2 separate regions of the Homo sapiens genome follow, and region 2 is linked to region 1. Evidence: promoter capture Hi-C in 16 types of primary human blood cells and fetal thymus (Javierre and others, 2016). All regions are on one chromosome and are shown on one strand. Each heading gives the region's core, a stretch centred on a gene start or on the middle of the fragment in contact. The rest is flanking DNA. Distances are from core to core; before and after follow the strand shown.

Region 1 (5,981 bases), core at 2,387-4,886:
CCGGCTACTCGGGAGGCTGAGGCAGGAGAATCGCTTGAACCTGGGAGGCAGACGCTGCCGTGAGCCGAGATCACGTTACCGCACTCCAGCCTGGGTGACAGAGCAAGACTCCATCTCAAAAAAAAAAAAAAAAAACAAAAAAAAAAGTCCCAGGGAAGGGAACTGAGCAAGATGGCATGTTATCAGGCTAATATAAAAAAATCAGTTGTATTCTTAAATACCAGCCGCAAACAACTGTAAATTAAAATTAAGAAAAAACCCCATTTATGGTAGTGCCAAATACAAAAAGTACCTGAAAATAATTTCACAGTAAACCTTCAAGACCTCTACCTCACTACTTGCAAAATACTGTTCTAAGTATTTTTCAGGGATTAACTCATTCAGTCCTCATAAAACTCTGTGAAGTAAGTCCTTCATCATCCTCATTTTAAAGTTGCGGAAACTGGGCAGACAGGTGAAGAGACTTAACCCAGAGCTATCAGATGGGAAGGCTCAGGGGTGGTGCATAAAAACAGGTTGGGGAAAAACAACTCGGGCTCATCAACACAAGCATAGCCACGGCTCAGCCTGCTGGAACGTTACACCATCCAGCCCGGATATTCTGGAAACCAGGCTTCCTGATGCAGGTGACATGGAACCTGCAGATCAACCGCAGAGAAGGTTGCAAAGCCAACCAGAGACCTGAACTCGGAGTCTTGCCTAATTTGCTTCCTCCTTTTTGCCCTTTCAATTTCTCTTTGGAGGCCCGCTGAGTGCTGTGCTCTCTCCCCTGCCGGATGAACAAATCCCACTGTTTTCACGCTGCTCTTTGGTGTCTTTATTTTCCTTCCAACAAGGCTGTCCTTGACCTGTCCAGCACAGTCCCCACTGGCCAAATGTGGCCATTTGGCTAAAATTAACTGAAATGTAAAAACTCAGTCCCTGAGGTAACATCTAAGTGCACACAGCCACATGTCACGAGTGGGTACATATGGGACAGCACATATTAGAACACTGCCCTCATCACAGAAAGGTTTTTTTTTGAGACAAGAGTCTCACTCTGTCTCACTCCCAGGCTGGAGTGCAATAGCATGATCTCACCTCACTGCAACCTTCGCCTCCTGGGTTCAAGCAATTCTTGTGCTTCAGCGTTCCAAGAAGCTGGGATTACAGGCACCCATCACCACGCTCAGCTAATTTGTGTACATACATATACATGTATATATATGTATGTGTATATATTTTATTTTTTATTTTTTATTTTTATTTTTTTTGGAGACAGTCTCGCTCTGTCGCCCAGGCTGGAGTGCAGTGGCATGATCTCAGCTCACTGCAACCTCTGCCTCCCGGGTTCAAGGGATTCTCCTGCCTCAACCTCCCGAGTAGCTGGGATTACAGCTGCATGCCACCACGCCCAGCTAATTTTTGTATTTTTAGTAGAGACAGGGTTTCACCATGTTGGCCAGGCTGGTCTTGAACTCCTGATCTCGTGATCCGCCCACCTCAGCCTCCCAAATTGCTGGGATTACAAGCATCAGCCACCACGCCCTGGCCATTTTTTTTCTTTTTTATTTGAGGCAGAGTTTCACTCTTGTAGCCCAGGTTGGAGAGCAATGGTGGGATCTTGGCTCACTGTAACCTCCGCCTCATGGGTTCAAGTGATCCACTCGCCTCAGCCTCCCGAGTACCTGGGATTACATGCACCCACCACCACACCCAGCTCATTTTTGTATTTTTAATAGAGACGGGGTTTCACCGTGTTGGCCAGGCTGGTCTTGAACTCCCGACTTCAGGAAATCCACCTGCCTCGGCCCCCCAAAGTGCTGGGATTACAGGCGCGAGCCACCACACCCAACCAATATATCCACTTTTAAATGTATTCCTAACGATAATACCCTGCGAGGGGTAATACTGCATGCCGAGCTATCTTCCATTTGCTTTTCCAGACCAGCTTTCCACCCTGCCCTGTGCTGTGTGTCAGGAGCCTGAGCTTGCCCCATAGGAAAACCTACTGGGACCTGGCCCTCTACCAGAGACTGGAGGCAGGAGCAGGAGGCCGGGACATGGACCTCCCTGCCCACTCAGACTGAGGCTCACACCTCCAGTCCAAGAAGCCCTCCCCAGTGACTCTTCTCCCTGTCCCGATCACTGCTGCCTTCCCTGATCCTTTGGAGTCCAGGAGTAGAAACTCCACTGCCACCAGTTCCAGGCTAAAGGACCAACTGTCATTAACCTGCACTCTGCCTTTGCAAACGGTCCCTTTATAAACCCTCCTCAAATCCTCCTGTGAGCATGAAACCTGATTTTTTTTTTTTGGGTATGTTTTTGAGACAGAGTCTCGCTCTGTTGCCTAGGCTGGAGCAGAGTGGTGCGGTCTCGGCTCACTGCAACCTCCACCTCCCAGGTTCAAGCGATTCTCCTGCCTCAGCCTCCCCAGTAGCTGGGATTACAGGCGCCTGCCACCACGCCCGGCTACTTTTTTGTATTTTTAGTAGAGATGGGGTTTCACCATGTTGGCCAGGCTGGTCTTTAACTCCTGACCTCGTGATCTGCCCGCCTTGGCCTCCCAAAGTTCTGGGATTACAGGCGTGAGCCACCGCGCCCAGCGGAAACCTGATTCTTGACTTTACATTTTTTATGCCCATCTAAAGCAGTGGAGGCTGAGACTCACAGAGGTTCAGTCACTTGCCCAAAGTCACATAGTATCCTCTGGCCTCCCTGGCATGCTGCTGACACCTGCATTTTACGGCAGGAATCTTCTCACTGAGGTTCGCCTACACAGACTTCCCAAGGGACTAAGGCCAGGATAATTTCAAAGGAATCCATTTTCTGCCCAAGTTTCGCTACGTTCTCTCTGCTAAAACAGAACTGCCTGAGGACGAACCTGCGTTTAAAACAATTTGAATTCTCCTTTCCCGTCCCCCTTTTATAATGGGTCCTCCCCTTTACAAAAGAAAGGTATTTCTCTAGTGACACTGCCCAACAACCCCTCTAATTCCCACCTACAGGTCTGTGTGAACGCCGTTCCTCGGTATCCACAGCTACGAGAACGTAAATGGGAATAGAACGGGTAACCCGCTCTCACTGGGCAGAAGCCAGCCACGGACAGTGAATTATCTGGAAATGCGTCTCCCTGAGGCGCGTTTACAATACAAAACTTTATTGTTGTTTTATCATCCAAATGTGTATATATTTATGTTGTTTTGTGCAACTGTATACTGCCAATAATCACTTTAAAATGTTTAATACTTAGAGCGCTGGATCAAGGCAAATTCCTAACAACTTGACTCGGAACTCACACACGGCACCCATCCCGTGACAGAGCACCACCGGGGTGGCTGACAAGACTTCTGACCCCAAAACGCGGTTCTGCGGAGAGAGTGGGGCAGGACCGGGGAGCAAGGCGCCGCTCCCCACCGCCCGAGCGCTCGCTACTCCAGGGCCGCAGCGCTCGGTCCCGCCGGGGTTCGCAGCCCGGCAGCCCTCCAGGCCTCTCAGCTCCTAGGCCGGGGCCTCTCCCGCTCCCAGCGCCCCGGTACCCCGCGGCCCAAGCCGAGGCCCCTCCTTGCGCCCGGGCCGCGACCACCCCCCAGGCCCACGCTCCCCGCTCCCCGCTCCCGCACTCACCGGCTCGGGAAAGCACGTCACTTCCGGAGCGTCGCAAGCGGCCGACCACTTCCGGGGCCTTTTGGCTCCGGAAGCCCAAGGCTTGCCCAGTGCGCAGGTGCAGAAAACACGCCGACGGACCGAGAGGCGACCTTGTCCCTGGTAGCGGAAGCAGGAGCAACGGCAGGAGGGATGCGGAGCGCTCAGCTGCAGCCGCGCTTCTCGCCGGCGCCCTCGCTGCCCGAGCACAAGGACAGCCGCCCCGCCCGTTCCACCCGGTGCCCAAGGTCCCCCAGCTTCTCTGACCCCTCCGGCGTTTGCGGAACCTCCCGGGTCTGACGAGGACACCGCCGTTGCCCGAGGAGGCTACGGGGCAACGCAGAGCAGGCAGTGGGGACCGCAGGGCAGCCCCGGGGCGCCGTCCCCACCGCCCTTACCCTGGCTTCGCCTTGCCGCCGCGGGGAATCCGGTGCGGACGCACGCGAACTCTGCCCGGGAGCCGAGGTGACGATCTACCTGGTCTCGGTAATAAGTATTTGCAAAACACATCACACCAAAATCCCGTTAACTTCATGAAAACTCACTTTATAGGATGATTTTTGAAGAACCAGTTTATTAAGAGATTACACCAAAAGCATAAACAATTTATACGTCAAACTCCGACTGAAAAAAAAATAACCGATAAGGATGTTTTTTAAATGTACTGTACTCACAAATAACAAGACAAATTTGACCTGTTCAATAAATAGAAATGAAGTGGCTAAAAATGTTTAAATGGAAATGGAAAACAGTCGTCTTCTTTGTACAGTTTTGAAGGGGTGCCCCCTATTCACGCCTACACGTAGAAAAACCCTGACAAAATCAGAGGTTCACTTAACACTCCAACCATATGAGCGTATTAAGGTTTCTTTTCAGATCTTAGGAGATCTTGTCCACCTTAATCCCATTCACAGATCTTAGGAGATCTTGTCCACCTTAATCCCATCATAAAGACTGTTGGCATGAGTTCTGATGTACTGTTTTAATATGCTGAGTACTGTTGATTCAACAACAAACCTTAATGGGTGATGAGCTTTTGCATACCAATATGAATTTGTCAGCACTTCTGAAAACTGGCCATCATTTTTCAAATTCACAATTTGCTGGATGTCAGGGAACAATAGGAAGAAGAATGAGCGTCAATTTTCATGTCTTCCTTTGCTTCTTCACTGGCCTTCCATAGAAGTAGTCAGAAAAAAACAAAGCACCATCAACCACACTTCACAAACAATTCATGTTGGCCTAAGCTTTGCTCAACATTCATATGACAGAAGATAGAATAATGAAAAGGAACTGCTGGCATCACTTTCCCCATAATATTACATAAAAATGGACAGCACATTAAATAAACATTCTGTTATTAATCATTAAATATATTAACACCAAAAATCATGTATAAATTAGGAAATAAATGTACAAACTATTTTGCAAAGTGCTTTTTAAAATATATACACAACATTCAAGATATTCTTAATGTAAGACATTTCAGATTGAAGTTTTGGGGTAAGTGTCCTTTTCTTTCAGAAAGTATTATTAATACAGCACTTAAAAAAACACACAAACACACAAAAAAGGCATATTCCCAGATTGGCAAGGAATAAAAATAAACTATCTTCACAGTTATCTAAAATGTTTAACATTTTCAGTGGGAAATTTTAGTCCCCGATTGAGTTTGCAAATTAGGTCTATGAAAATTGACAGGAAAAGAACACAATCAAGGGAGATGACTCCCTAACTGAAATTGCTAACGCGTTTGTCAATTAGCAATTAAGAACTCTCATTTCGGTGATCGAATATGAACACATACGTTTATTTTTGAGCCCTTACCAGTGTTAAGGGTTTTAGAAACCCTTAGTGCCTACAAAATAAACACTTCTCTCCCCATTTGTGCGTGACATCCGTCTCCTAGGAGAGGGGAGAATGTCCTAGAACAGGACTGGTATTCAACACAGGCAAGTCCTTTAATCTGTGCCTCAGTTCTTCATCTCTAAAATGGGAACTGTTACCTGCCTCCAGATTTCCTCATAGGGGCTGTCAGAATTAATTCAAGCAAAACACATAAGTGACTTATAAATTCTAAAGCACCCGACTCTGGATAAAGAATTAATTTTAACTTATTTATTTATTTATTTATTTATTTTTTTGAGACGGAATTTCACTCTTGTTGCCTAGGCTCGGGTGCAATGGTGCGATCTTGCCCCACCACAACCTCTGTCTCCTGGGTTCAAGCCATTCTCCTGCCTCAGGTTCCCGAGTAGCTGGGATTACAGGTATGCACCACCATACCTGGCTAATTTTGTATTTTTAGTAGGGACGGGGTTTCTCCATGTTGGTCAGGCTGGTCTCGAACTCCCGAC
Region 2 (5,981 bases), core at 1,127-3,626, 460 kb before region 1:
CTTTTCCATAACCCCGTCTTCTTTTTCACACTAGCTCTGAGGGTGGAAGGCAGGGAGGTGCCAGCCACGTTCCCTTCCACAGAGGGAACTCCCTGTTGGAATTCCTACCCCGGCTTCCTGCCGTCTGTCCTGGAACACATTGCTCCAGGCCTCCGAGCCTCAGTTTCCTCGTTTGCAAAATGGGGGCGATAACAGAGCGTCCTCAAAGGGGATAAGACGGAAGAAGTTGGCTCATATCAGGGCTCATAATTGTTGCCAAGTATTAACAGGTAACCACAATCACACTCCACAAAGCTTCCCTTTTAGTGTCAGTGAAATTAATTTAAAAGAAGTTTCCGAAAGTCAAGTGTGTGTGTGTGAATCCTGAGATAAGTCAGGTAAGGGGGGAAATGACCACCTCACGGCCCCAGGCTGGTGAGGAAGTCCTAGCCACGGAGGCGGTGCTGCAGGACCTGGCCTGGTGGCATAGCGTGGCGGGCGGGTTCACCGTGGAGAGACGAAGGAGGTGCTGCGGCTTGTGAGAAAAGGCCCACAACCCCATGCAGTTATTTATGAAATGGTTTTCCTTCCTCCAGGGCTTGGGGCTCCTGCCCACTCGTATCAGGTCCCGGGACCCCCCCGGTGGTGTCCTCAGGGCTCCCGCCGTCCCAGGCCGCCCTCCACTTCTGGAAGCAGACACGAGGCCACGAGACCCACTGCTTTTGGGTATCTGCTTTCATTCCTGACACTGCCCTTTAAGAGAAAAAAGTACCCACATTGTTCCCAGATGGAGAGGGTCCCTCCCAGAGGGTGAGGCACTGCCACAGGGGCTCACGGCCCTGCCAGGAGTGGAAGGTGCACACCCAGAAGTATTTCTCCTGTGAAGGAAGGGGGCTGAGCTTCGCTGCAGACCTGGCCTCAGGTGTGGATGAGCTTCGCTGCAGACCTGGCCTCAGGTGCGGAGTCTGCGGGAGCAGCATTTCCAGGCAGACCTGACAGAAGGTGCCTTTGAGAGGTGGTGAGCTCCGTGTTACAGGAGGCTTGTGAGCACAGGTAGCCCATCTTCTGGTGATGATGCTGGAGAAGCAATTCAAATGTCAGAAGCAGGACTGGACTCTGTTTCCAAAACTCACGTCTGGATTCTACCCCCTGAAAACATTATTTACACAATGTTTTTCCTTTAAACAATTCACACATTTGATTAAAAGGGTAAGTTTATTTTTTAAAAAGTCAGTGTCAATTACCACAAAGAGGTCACCATAAAAATAGATAAAAAGAAACAAAATGGCATTAAATTCTAGCCAAATATTGCTGCCTGTGGAGGGCTCCCGGCCTGAGACCCGCCTCAGACCCCACCAGGCATTCTTTGGGATTCCTGCATAGGCACCATTGGAAAGGTAAATCCAGAGCAAACATTTCAGGTACATTCGTGCAAAATGCAGGCCCTCAGTCCTGTCCTCAAAGGCAAATGCTGGTGCCCAGGCTCCTCAAGAGGCCCCTAGGAGCACCAGGAGGCCTTGACCCAGGTGAAGGGTCCTGCCGCAGGCCATCAAGGGGGTCTGCAGGTCTGGCCCAACTCCAGGCCCTGCGTGGTGGGGTCCATCTGCACCAGCTTTCGGGAGCCGACTGTGTCCTTACTCTTGCCCTAGAGGACTCGGGGGTCAGCTACAGAGCACAGCAGTGTCTTGGAACAAGGGCAGCCTGATTATGTGCCCTGGAACATTCTGAACTCAATAAGTTCTATCCCAGCAGGGCTTTTTTTCTTTCTTTTCTTTTTTTTTTTTCTTTTTTGAGAGGAAATAATTAAAAGAAAAAGAAAGCGAGAACCCCCTGGCTCCCCTGTGGCCTTGCAGGGTCGTACTGCTGCCTGTCCGGGCGGCTTCAGGAGGCTCGGAACAGATGCTGCACATTTGTGGGCCACTTACTGTTCTCTGACATCATCTTTAGAGGCACCTCAAAGAGCTGAAATGTGACAGCCTGTATTTCCACCTCCCTCTCTCTTTATGGACATTGTCACTTGGAGGAAAATCGATCTAAAGATCAGAAGAGAAGTGTAGAGAGAGAAGAGAGAGAAACGCTGTCAGGTCAAGGGGCAGGTTAATGGCCAACCCAGAAACAGCGTGGGATCCCGGTGCCTCTGCCTGGAGGGTCCAGCCTGGAACACACATCATTCCTAGCTTTGACCAGGAATGGTATCCAAAAAATGACCTCACTTAGCTATTAGTACTTGATTGGGATAATACTTAAAATCCTGCTAATATTTCTGTGGTTGCTTCCATTCTGTAGTCATAGTTCATTTCTATTTTCTATGAATTTGGCGTATGTCTTAGCCAACTCATTTGAAACTGCCTGTCCTTCCTTGACTTATAAAAAAATGGCCATTTCAGCTTCGTGATAATGGGCAAGTCTCAGAAATGATGAAAACATCATTTAATTGTTTCATTATTTCAAAGTCTCAGGCTGTGGCCATGTGGTGGAGGCTCTAGAGAAAGTTTCTAAAAAATATTTTAAAAGTTACGACTGCACTGTTTTGCATGAGAAAGAGGATTTTGCTAAAGATTGAAGGCGATCGGGCTGCAGGCGAAATGTGGCTTGAAGTCCCCAGCTCCAGAGTGGCACGTTTCAGTCTGTTAAATGCTGTGTTCAGGTGAGGAGTTAGGATCATGGTACAACCCAGATGTGGGCTGGCGGCTGGCACACAGCTTAGCAAAGAAGAGACGCACAAGGCCAGAGTGGCCTTAGGAAAAACTCAGCCTGGAGTTGTCCAAATGTCCGCGATGGAGGAGTTTCATGGGGGAATTAAGATTGTCAGGTTAGGGAAGGGCACAGGTAGCTGGGAGGCTCTTTGGTAGCAAAATTCCATAGAAGATAAAAAGCATGTTCTCTCTTGGAAATCATCAGTCCATCCTGTCGGAGCCCCTTTGGAGCAGGGTGTGGCTGGAGGGCCTGGCTTGCTGGCCACGCCTCAGTCACAGCATTGGCTTTCCTGCGCTTCTGCTTCCTGCTCTTCCCGGTGATCTGCGTCCTGCGGGGCGCACAGCAAGCCCTCCGTGGGACGAAGATCTTCGTCTTCCATCCACGCTGCTTTGCTCACCTGCGACATGACCTGAGGCTCTGGCCCTGCTGAGCTGGGCCCTTGGCCAGTGCTGTACAAACGCCATCCACCATCTGGTGACAGCAGCCTAGCAATTGACCAACAGAGGCCTCCCACTGTCCTCCCTCCTGCCGCCCTCCCTCTGCATCTCCCAGAGCAGGACGACTCCAGGGAGACAGACTCAATTCAATCTTTTTCTGTTTCAGAGAATCTGTCACCATTAAAAGCAGCTACCAGGGAATCTGATTCCATTGCACCAGGTCTCAGGTCTCAGGTCTCAGGCGTTCTTCCAAAATGCTGGTGGATGGTGGGCTCTCGCCCTGGGATTATAGATGCCCAGATAAACCATATGTAAATAACACTGCATTTAACCCGCCGACAAAGGGTGGCCTTCTTGACGGTGGTGAAGGAAGTTTTGACCCAGGAGAACAGAGGTCGTCATTCACAAGCACTAGGGTCCGGTGAAAGCACAGGCTTCAGCGTCTGGACAGGCAGCTACATGACGGTATCATGTTCTCTTTAGAAGCCACCAACTGATTCCTGTGTGTTCAGAGCCTGCTGTTAGAGATTAGGTGTGGGGTAGAAAAAATTGGAATCTGGACTTCCCTGCCTGGCGAGATGGCCCTGAGCTCTGAGACATGACCTGAGGACACCTGGAGTGCCCTGAGTTCCAGGGGACACATAGCAGCCAAGTGGGGAAGAGGCCACTGAATGCCGGTGGCTCCGTGGCAAAGGCACATGGAGCTGTAGGAAGAGACATGCTGGGGCCCCCAGCACCTGGAGAGCAGCAGCCCTGTCCACACCTGGGGCCTTGGCTGCCCACAGCCTCTCTAGAAGGGTCATCTGAATTTCACTGGTGATCTGCTTGTGAGGTCTTCTGCATACACTCTTACTTACAAAGAGGCAAACGTCTGCCAGCCCAAGGGCTTCTGGAACTGCCTCGGTCTGCCTGGCTCCTGAGCCTCCCCGCGGGTCTGGGGGTGGAGGTGTTCACAGGGTTCACTTGGCTGAGACCTCACATTCTGGAAGGGCCTCGTGTTAGGTGAGTGATTATCTTAGCTTCCAATACAACTGTGCATGCAGTCCGGACCCGCCGAGGCACAGACCCATCAGGTCTTCTGCTAACTCTCATCCCGGCCCACCCAGCATGACTAGCAAGATTATATTGCATTGAGAGTGTTTACAGTAAAAGCGTTAAATGTAATCATTTACCTTGTTGGCGATTGTTTGCAGCCCTCTTTGAGCATTCATTCCCTCATGTTTCATTTGCTGAGACTTTGGCAAATGGAAGTGGGCAGTCCCTGTCCCCATCTCCAGGGCCCTGCCTTGGCACCTTCCCCACCAAGCTGACACCTCTGTGAGCTTCAGAGAAGCTAGAAGCTTTGGAGCTTTGTCCAAGGACATGGACACCCCATTGCAGCCTCACTCACTTGGGGGTGAAAGGAAGGTGACCTGCCCAGCCCTTTCAAAGTTCCCTGACAATGTGCAGAGCTCCCTGGCTGTGTGCAGAGCTCGCTGACCGTGTGCAGAGTTCCTGGCTGTGTGCAGAGATCCCTGATGGTGTGCAGAGTTCCTGGCCGTGTGCAGAGCTGGCTGACCATGTGCAGAGCTCCCTGGACGTGTGCAGAGATCCCTGGCCATGTGCAGAGCTCATTGTTGGGGGAAGTCAGGTGATAGAACCCAGAGGCACAAAAACAGGGATGCCCACAGGTCCCTGAGATTCCTTCTTGGGCGGTGTCTGCTGTCCCCAGGGTCCCGTGACCGTGGAAGGCACCATGACCATGTCCATCTTGTGCCAACCTGCTCTGCCCTGGAACATGTTGCCCAGGGCCTGGGTGGACTGTCAGAGCTAGTGAACGATATTTAAGCCTACACAGGGGCAAGGAATCTTCCAGAACTTTCTGTGTTTAGGTGCCACGCAGTCAGCATCCTGCAGGCAAGCCGGACCCTTTCCCACGTAGGAGACTCACAGAATTTTCATCTTCCCCATCACAAGGTAGAAATGGGCTTTTCTGGCTCACTGAGAGGCCTGGATGTTCTACTTAAACCCCAGGAACGTGGAGCTCTAGAGGAGATTAGAAGAGCCAGCTCAATTTCCTGACCCCAGATGGTTTGTTCCATCTGCAGGAAGGGGGTGGCTCCTGCGTACGGGGCCCAGGGCTGAGTCGGCGGCGCGTGCTGCACCTCCCTGGGGTGCCTTCCTGGGCTCTCTCATCCCCCGGCCACTCCTCTGGCTGGCGCTGGAGCCAGGCCTGCTGGGCCCCTTTGTGCCGTCACCCGTCACAGAGCCTCGATTCCCCCAGACATGCTCCCCGCAAATCCTTCCAGACGCTCTAGCCAAGCGGCTGAGGTTGTCAGAAAACCTGGGCACTCCCAGCGTCTGTGGGGCCACCTCCCCTCCCTACCCGCACTGCCCTCCCCTCCTCCGCTGCCCTCCTGGGCAGACGCCCACCCCGGCCCCTGAAGAGGCAGCCACATCCCCCTTTCCTTCCCAGGGCTTATCCTGTTCCCTGTCTTTCCATCCAAGCCCCCACACCAGGTCCCCCGTCCTAAAATGCCGTGAATTCAGTCTGTTCGCTCCATTCGCTCTGCTCCACTGAGGCACCCCTGGGAGAGCAGCTTCCTCTGGAAAAAGTGTCCCCTGCTTCTCAAGTCCTCACCCCACCGTCACCTACTCCGCCTCGGCAGCCTTCAGGGCAGGCCTAGCCCCGGCCACACCCTGGCTTCTGTGGCCGTCTGTGTCCTGCACAGCCCCCGGTCATGTCTGCAGCGAGGCATTCTCCACGTTCTGGGCTCAGAGAATCCCATGCCCCAGCCCCTCCTCAGGTCCAGCCCCATCTGCAGCCTTCCCCCTGCTGCCTGCAGGCGCCCTCCTCTTCCCCCACGGGCTGCGGGCTTCGGGCTGCGG

The links. The method cuts DNA at HindIII sites, captures the fragments that hold promoters and counts their contacts. A CHiCAGO score of 5 or more calls a contact.
Region 2: a contact is called between a fragment that was not itself captured here and the fragment with the promoter of MTG2 in region 1, in 2 of 17 cell types (erythroblasts and neutrophils). The highest score is 6.1, in erythroblasts.

Annotation. Positions count from the first base shown.
Region 1 is chr20:62,180,683-62,186,663 of GRCh38, reverse strand. MTG2 (mitochondrial ribosome associated GTPase 2) reads right to left here and starts at 3,636. Exons shown (of 7, transcript NM_015666.4): 1 at 3,607-3,636. SS18L1 (SS18L1 subunit of BAF chromatin remodeling complex) reads right to left here. Exons shown (of 11, transcript NM_198935.3): 11 at 4,150-5,981. RefSeq lists silencers at 3,418-3,587, 3,594-3,778, 3,818-4,007. The HindIII fragment of the contact is 5,602 bases long and covers 1-4,873 here.
Region 2 is chr20:62,635,941-62,641,921 of GRCh38, reverse strand. LOC124904949 (a long non-coding RNA gene) reads left to right here. Exons shown (of 2, transcript XR_007067711.1): 1 at 1-269; 2 at 576-4,277. Among named protein-coding and RNA genes, the nearest start is that of SLCO4A1, 3.6 kb to the left of the region's middle. RefSeq lists enhancers at 5,426-5,925, 5,926-5,981. The HindIII fragment of the contact is 4,159 bases long and covers 297-4,455 here.